2 separate regions of the Homo sapiens genome follow, and region 2 is linked to region 1. Evidence: promoter capture Hi-C in human tissues and cell types (Jung and others, 2019). All regions are on one chromosome and are shown on one strand. Each heading gives the region's core, a stretch centred on a gene start or on the middle of the fragment in contact. The rest is flanking DNA. Distances are from core to core; before and after follow the strand shown. Region 1 holds the start of PDRG1 (p53 and DNA damage regulated 1). Region 2 overlaps XKR7 (XK related 7).

Evidence for each region. The method cuts DNA at HindIII sites, captures the fragments that hold promoters and counts their contacts. A contact is called where the count stands out against the background at its distance.
Region 2: a fragment that was not itself captured here is called in contact with the fragment with the promoter of PDRG1 in region 1 in 2 of the 25 tissues and cell types used here (lymphoblastoid cells and mesenchymal stem cells).

The regions. Positions count from the first base shown.
Region 1 is chr20:31,950,628-31,953,842 of GRCh38, forward strand. PDRG1 (p53 and DNA damage regulated 1) reads right to left here and starts at 1,419. Exons shown (of 5, transcript NM_030815.3): 1 at 1,248-1,419. The coding sequence starts at 1,334. The HindIII fragment of the contact is 6,454 bases long and covers 1-3,150 here.
Region 2 is chr20:31,989,058-31,992,439 of GRCh38, forward strand. The region is part of intron 1 of XKR7 (XK related 7); the gene reads left to right. Among named protein-coding and RNA genes, the nearest start is that of CCM2L, 20 kb to the right of the region's middle. RefSeq lists an enhancer at 1-698. The HindIII fragment of the contact is 4,296 bases long and covers 1-3,382 here.

The DNA.
Region 1 (3,215 bases), core at 169-2,668:
GGAAATTCTGCATTATCCACTCGAACTTTAGGGCATATCAGAATCACCAGGGGAGTGGAAACCCTTCCCCTACACACTGTGATTAAGCAGGCCTAATGTTTATTTTTGGACAAACTTCTCCAGCTGATTCTGAACTAGTAATATGAGAAACCCAACAATACTAGATTGGAACAGCAGGATTGGGGGCACTGAGACAGTGGTAACAACACAATAGCTACTAAGGAAGTGACGCAGTAGTACAGTATACTGCACGAGTGCTGGTTCTGGATTTGGAATACCCAGGTTCGAATCCTGCTATCTGCCTCAAGCTGTGTAATTTCACCTTCCTATTTACTCCTCCTCAAAATGGAGCTACGGACAGTACCTACCTTACAGGTTATTGAGCCAGCAATTAAATGACTTAACACAGTACCTGGCACATAGTAAGTAGCTGATAAACTTTAACTGCTCTTATTCTCATCCAGCACACCCTGATCCAGTACTTAATTTGACAGGATCTTGCCCAAGTTTTCCCCTTCTCAGTAAATACCTGACCCTTCTAACTGGAGATGAGAGGGAGTCACGACTCCCCCGGCTCCACTACCACGGCCTACTGAGTCTGTCTCCAAAATACATTTCTGACCCCTTCACTTCTCTCCACCACCACTACCTAGTCCAAATCCATCTCTGGTCTGGACCATACCAATGGCCCCTCACCCATCTCCCTGCCTCCGCCCTTGCCCACCTATATTCTGTATTCCACACAGCAGCCAGGGGGGATCCTTTTAAAACCTAAATCCAATTACGTCACCCTCCTTCCCCCAGGAACTCCCCTCAAAAACTTGGCACTTAAAACAAGACACCCCATAAACAGGGCGCCACCTTCCCCCACGTCCCCACCCCTGCCCGGTCACAAGGCCCCCTCAGGCTTCTTTTCGGTTCCAGCTCTCCCCTGAGGGCCTTTACAGGGCGGTGCCCCTAGATCAACCATGGGGCCGGGAAGTGCATTTTGAAACAGGTGCTCAGGGAAACGGCCCAGAGCATGATGGGTCGAGATCCACAGAGCATGGCAAGGGGCAGAGAAAGGATGAAGAGAGAGGAATGTCCAGCATAGCGCAGGCGCTCACTTAGTAGCGGCCGAATATTTATCGGCCCAGGTCTGTCGCCTCGGAGCCGTTAACCGCCTGTCCAGGTCAACTCACTGCGACCCCGCGCGCTTTCCCACGGCGCCGGCCGCCAGGCCCCAGCGCCGCGGAGGGGCCTCTCACCTGCCGCTTGTCCGCCAGCACCTCCTCGGCGAGCTCCTCCACTTCTACAAGGTACCGCAGCACTCGCTCTGCCTCGGGTGATAGCATAGCGCCCACCAACTCCGCTTGCGGCTCTCGCGCGACCCCGGGATCTCCGCTTCGACTCCCGCTGCGCACGCGCCGCTCTCTAGGTGCTTCCGGCGCGCCTGCGCAGTTAAAAGAACGGTGGTGCGCAGGCTCTAACACTAGTGCGCCAGCCGGCTGCGAGAGGCGGGGCCTAGCTTTGGGGGCGGGGCTGGAGCGCCCTCTGCAGGCTCAGAGAGCTCAGTCCTCGGGCTGCCTCTGACCCGTTACTCCCTCGGTTCATGCTTCTTGAGCACTTATTATGTGCCAAGCAGTTTTATGTGCTTAGGATGCAGCAGTGAACACAACAAAATCCCTGCCCTCATGGAACTTCATCCTAGTGGGAAACACCGACAATTAATGGCAAAACAATTATATACCGTGGCAGGTAGTGATTAGGATCTGGGAAATATTATTCTTCCCCTGGCTAAGAAACACCAAGAAGGCCCATGTGGCAGTGTGACTTATGTTTAATCTCTGACACTTTCAGTTTCTAATTTATAAAAAGGGGGTGAATAAAAATCCGCCTCAGTGTCTCTCCACAGGATCGGAAGGAAGCAGGAATCAGCTGGGCGCAGTGGCTCATGCCTGTAATCCCAGTACTTTGGAAGGCCAAAGCGGGGGGATCACTTGAGCCCAGGAGTTCGAGACCAGCTTGGGCAACACAGTAAAACCTCCGTTTCTACTAAAAATACAAAAAAAAAAAATTAGCTGGGTGAGGGGGGGCGCGCCCGTTGGTCCCAGCTACTCAGGAGGCTGAGGCGGGAGGAGCACCTGCATCTGGGGAGTCGAGGCTGCCCTGAGCTATGATGGCACCACTGCACTCCAGCCCGGGTGACAAAACGAGACTCTGTCTCAAAAAACAAAGGAAGCAGTAATCACTTTTAATTCCGTTTAACCAGAGTTCACTTGAGCCCCTGTGTTGGGCCCAATGTCCAGAGTAGCTGGCCTATACATAAGGAAGGGACTTGAAAACTATGGGCAGTAAGCAATGAAGTGCTAGCTCAGAAAAGCAGGTGGGTGTGGGTGGTAGGATTGGGAGGACTTCCCAGAGAAGGCAGGCAGGTGGAAAATGGTTACCATCAGAACCAGAGGGTTCCCACGAGGTCTTCACGCCCAAACTCCTCATTGGATAGCTGGAAAAAACAAACCTCAGAGAGAGGCAAGGCTTTGAAAAGAAGGTGAGGGGTGAGCCATGTGGATGCCTAGGAGAAGAGTGTTCCAGGCAGAGGGAACAGCCAGCGTATGTGGAACAGAATGGGCGGGGGGGAAGCAGGCAGGAGGTCAGAGGGAAGGAGGCATTGAGCCCACATGGCTGTAAAAGGCGCTGGGAAAGGACTTTGAAAGTCTAAAGAGCAGAACCGATATTATCACTCTGATGTCTCGCCTCCCTGATTCCAGCGTTTTATTCTCTCCTTTTGACCTCTTGTAACCAAGCCCCTTCACACCCCTTGCCTTACTTGAGTGTCAAAGCAACCTTTGTATGGATGGGATTATTACTGCCCCATTTCACAGCTGCAGACTGAGGCCAGGAGAAAGGCAGTGCCTCATCACACAGCAAGCCAGGAGTGCCTGGTGTCCATGCCATTTCCGGACCCTGAAAAAACCCTCCCCAAAAATTGTGGCCCCAGAAGCCCCAGCAGCACCTCTATGTTGCCTAGCCATTGGCTGCCTTCAACTACCAGAGGCAGAGCTAATTTTTCCTTCAGCCACCTGGTGTGGGGAAGGAGGGAGATTCATTAAGGATTCCTCACTGAGGGTGAATTTGTCGCCAAACCCAGGATGTTTTGTATAAACACCTTCTGGTTCAGAAATGCAGGCACAGGCCCTGAGAAGGAAAGGGGGATGTTTGCCAAAGCAGAAATG
Region 2 (3,382 bases), core at 231-2,730, 38 kb after region 1:
AATAAATAAACGGTGATTTCATAGTGTAGGTTAAGATGAAAATAAGACAGGGGGTGTGGTAGACTAGAGTGAGTTGGCAAGGGTGGCCTGGGAGGCCTCTCTGAGAAGGTGTGAGCTGATGAGGAGCCAGCCATGGGAGGATCTGGGAAAGGGGTATTCCAGGCAGAGCAAGTGCAGACGTCCTGAGCCAGGGACAAGTCTGGCTGAGTTTTAGGACACCCCCCCCCCAGCGCATCTGGAGTGTCAGGAACAAGTGGGACAGTGGTTTGAGATGAGGTGAGAGAAACAGGCAGGGCCAGATGGTTTAGGGCCTGCACGCCGAGGGGAGAAGCGTGGGTTTTATTCCAAGTGTGATGGGAGGCCCTTGGAAGGCTTTGAGAAGGGGAATGACATGATCTGACAGGTTTTAAAAATATCCTGCTGGTTGCCATGTGGAGAATGGACTGTAGGGAGGCAGGAGTGGATGCGGGCAGCCACACAGAAGGCTGACGTGGTCACCCAGGCAAGATGACTGTGGCCTGCACAGGTGGTAGCAGAGGAGACATGGACAGACTGGGGATTTTGTTGTTTTTTAGTGATGGACTCTCACCCTGTCACCCAGGCTGGAGTGCAGTGGTGCAGTCATGGCTGACTGCAGCCTCGAACTCCTGGACTCAAGTGATCTTCCCACCTCAGCCTCCTGAGTAGCTGGGACTACAGGCACACGCCACCACATCGGCCAATTTTTAAATGTTTTGTAGAGATGGGGTTTCTCTGTGATGCCCAGGCTGGTCTTGAACTCCTGGGCTCAAGTGATCCTCCCGCCTTGGCCTCCCAAAATGTTGGGATTCCAGGCATGAGCCGCCACACCTGGCCTGGGGATAATTTTGGAGAAGATCAGATGTACACCACCCCCAATCTGGATTCCCTTCCCTGAGGTGTGGTGTTCTTCCCTTGGGTGAAGATCAGCTTCTTTCAACTTCATTTCAAATAGAGTGGGATGTGGGATAGGGTGGACTTCCTAGAGGAGGTTTCAAGAGAGGTTGCCTGGTGGTGAGGAGGAGCCAGCGGCCCCTGCCCAGTGTATGCTACTCCCTCTATGGACACCCTTTATAGTTTATAAACTATTTTTAAATTCATTGCGTGTGTGTGTGTGTGTGTGTGTGTGTGTGTGTGTGGAAACAGGGACTCACTGTGTTGCCCAGACTGGTCTCAAACTCCCCGGTTCAAGAGATCCACCTACCTCGGCCTCCCAAAGTGTTGGGATTACAGGTGTGAGCCACTGCACCCTGCCCCATCACACTCATTTAATGCTCACAACAAGGAGGAAAATAAAGCTCAGAGAAGTGGAGAGACTACCCAAGGTCACACAGCAGGTCTGGGACAGGGCTGGGAATCAAACCCACATGCCAGCCATTGCTACCTTTCCTCCCTCATCCTTACCCCAGTGGCTATGTGTAAGCAGAATGGCAAGTGCCATTCCCATTTTAGAGAAGGGAAACTGAGGGCCAGGGAAATTAGGTTGCATGTCCTGGGCAGGACTGTTTTAAGACCTTTGTGGGCACCACATCTATCAAGCATATTAAAATGCAGCTACATCAAACATCCCATGTAAATTATATATGACTAGATAAAAGCCAAATTGTAGTTGACTGGCTGACATCATGTTCTGTTTTGCACACATTTAATTAAACATTTATTAATTTTGATTCTGTAGTTTTTCCCTGTGTTTTGGAGCCAATTTTTTTTTTTCAGGCTTCAAACATTTCCCTAGGCCCATGAAAATCTCACAGGCCCTTGGCAGAGAGCTTTTCGTGCTGGCTGGAAGGAACAGCCACAGTTTTGCTCCTGTTGCCAAAAGGGGCAGAGCGAGGCAGAACCCAGGCCTTTTATCCCCAGACCACAGTGTGGTCTTTCCACACTCCCCACTGACCCCACATTCCTGGTACTCAGAGCCCTCCTCTCTTCTCTTCCTCCATCCCTGCTCCTGCCCACTGTGGCCCTGGGCTGTGTGAGCCCTTTGTCTGTGGTTAGCTAGGAGCTGGCAGAGGAGGGGGCAGGAGTGGGCAGGGAGGTGGGCAGGTGGCCCGTCAGGTAGTGATGGATGCTGGCCAGGGGCCAGGGCCTCTCTCATGCTGACCCGGGCCCGGAAACAGATGGTCTTCCAGCCTGAGAGAAACTTCCAGGGTGTCACCTTCCCCCAACTCCCCAGGCCCCTTCACATTGGACCAGCTGGTCTCTCCTTCCTAGTCAAAGCCAGAGCCATGGGAAGGGGAAGGGAATGTGGCGGCAGTGGGGATGGAGGCTAGGAAAGACGGCCTGTGTTCTAGGCCCTCAGAAGTTCTAAGGGCCATCTTGGTTTCTCCCCCAGCCCCCACCTCTGGCCATCTCCAGATCTCTCTCTGCCCTTCCTGTATCCCATGCCTTAGCTCAGCCCTGTAATTTCAGACCTGGACCAAACCCCATCCTCTCCTGGCTTTCCTCCAAGCCAGCCTCCACAGCAAGCTTTCTAAGCCACTGAGCCAAGCTCATCACCCCTGATTCTGGGATGGCATTCAGATAGAGAATAAAATCTGAACTCTTCAGTCCAGAATTTCATGCCCTTCACAATTCTAGTCTCCTTATGTCCCTGCCCATTAAAACCCCTTGTCCAGGCCCAGCAAACCTCTGGCCATTCCCCTAAAATGCCAAATTCTTTCAGGCCTCTGAGCCTTTGCTTCAGCTGATTCTCCCACCTGGAATGACCTTCCATCTCTTGTGTGCCTTCAGATGCCAACCCATGCTTTAAAACTGAGATCAGGCCAGGCGTGGTGGCCCACACCTGTTATCCCAGCACTTTGGGAGGCTGAGGCGGGTGGATCACCTAAGGTCAGGAGTTTGAGACAAGCCTGACCAACATGGAGAAACCCCGTCTCTACTAAAAATACAAAATTAGCCAGGCATGATGGCGTATGCCTGTAATCCCAGCTACTCGGGAGGCTGAGGCAGGAGAATCGCTTGAACTCTGGAAGCGGAGGTTGTGGTGAGCCGAGATCACACCACTGCACTCCAGCCTGGGCAACAAGAGCGAAACTCTGTCTCAAAACAAAACAAAACAAAACAAAAACAAAAACAAACAAAAAAACTGAGATCAAATGTTTCTTCCTTCCAAGGCATCTTATAGCATTATTTCACTTCCTATCTTGTCTCTCTTCCATGGGACTGGGAGATACATATGGGCACACAGCCTGGCACAGAGCAGGTGGTCAGAATCCACCTGCTACATGAATGAATCATTCTGGCTGCAGGGATCCTTATGTGTGGGGTAAGCAGGAGTCCAGAAAATGGAAGATACAGGGAGACAAATTTCTGCTTATCAGAAGAAATACAATCCAGACCTGGAGCTGCTCAGAAGCTGAGGTCC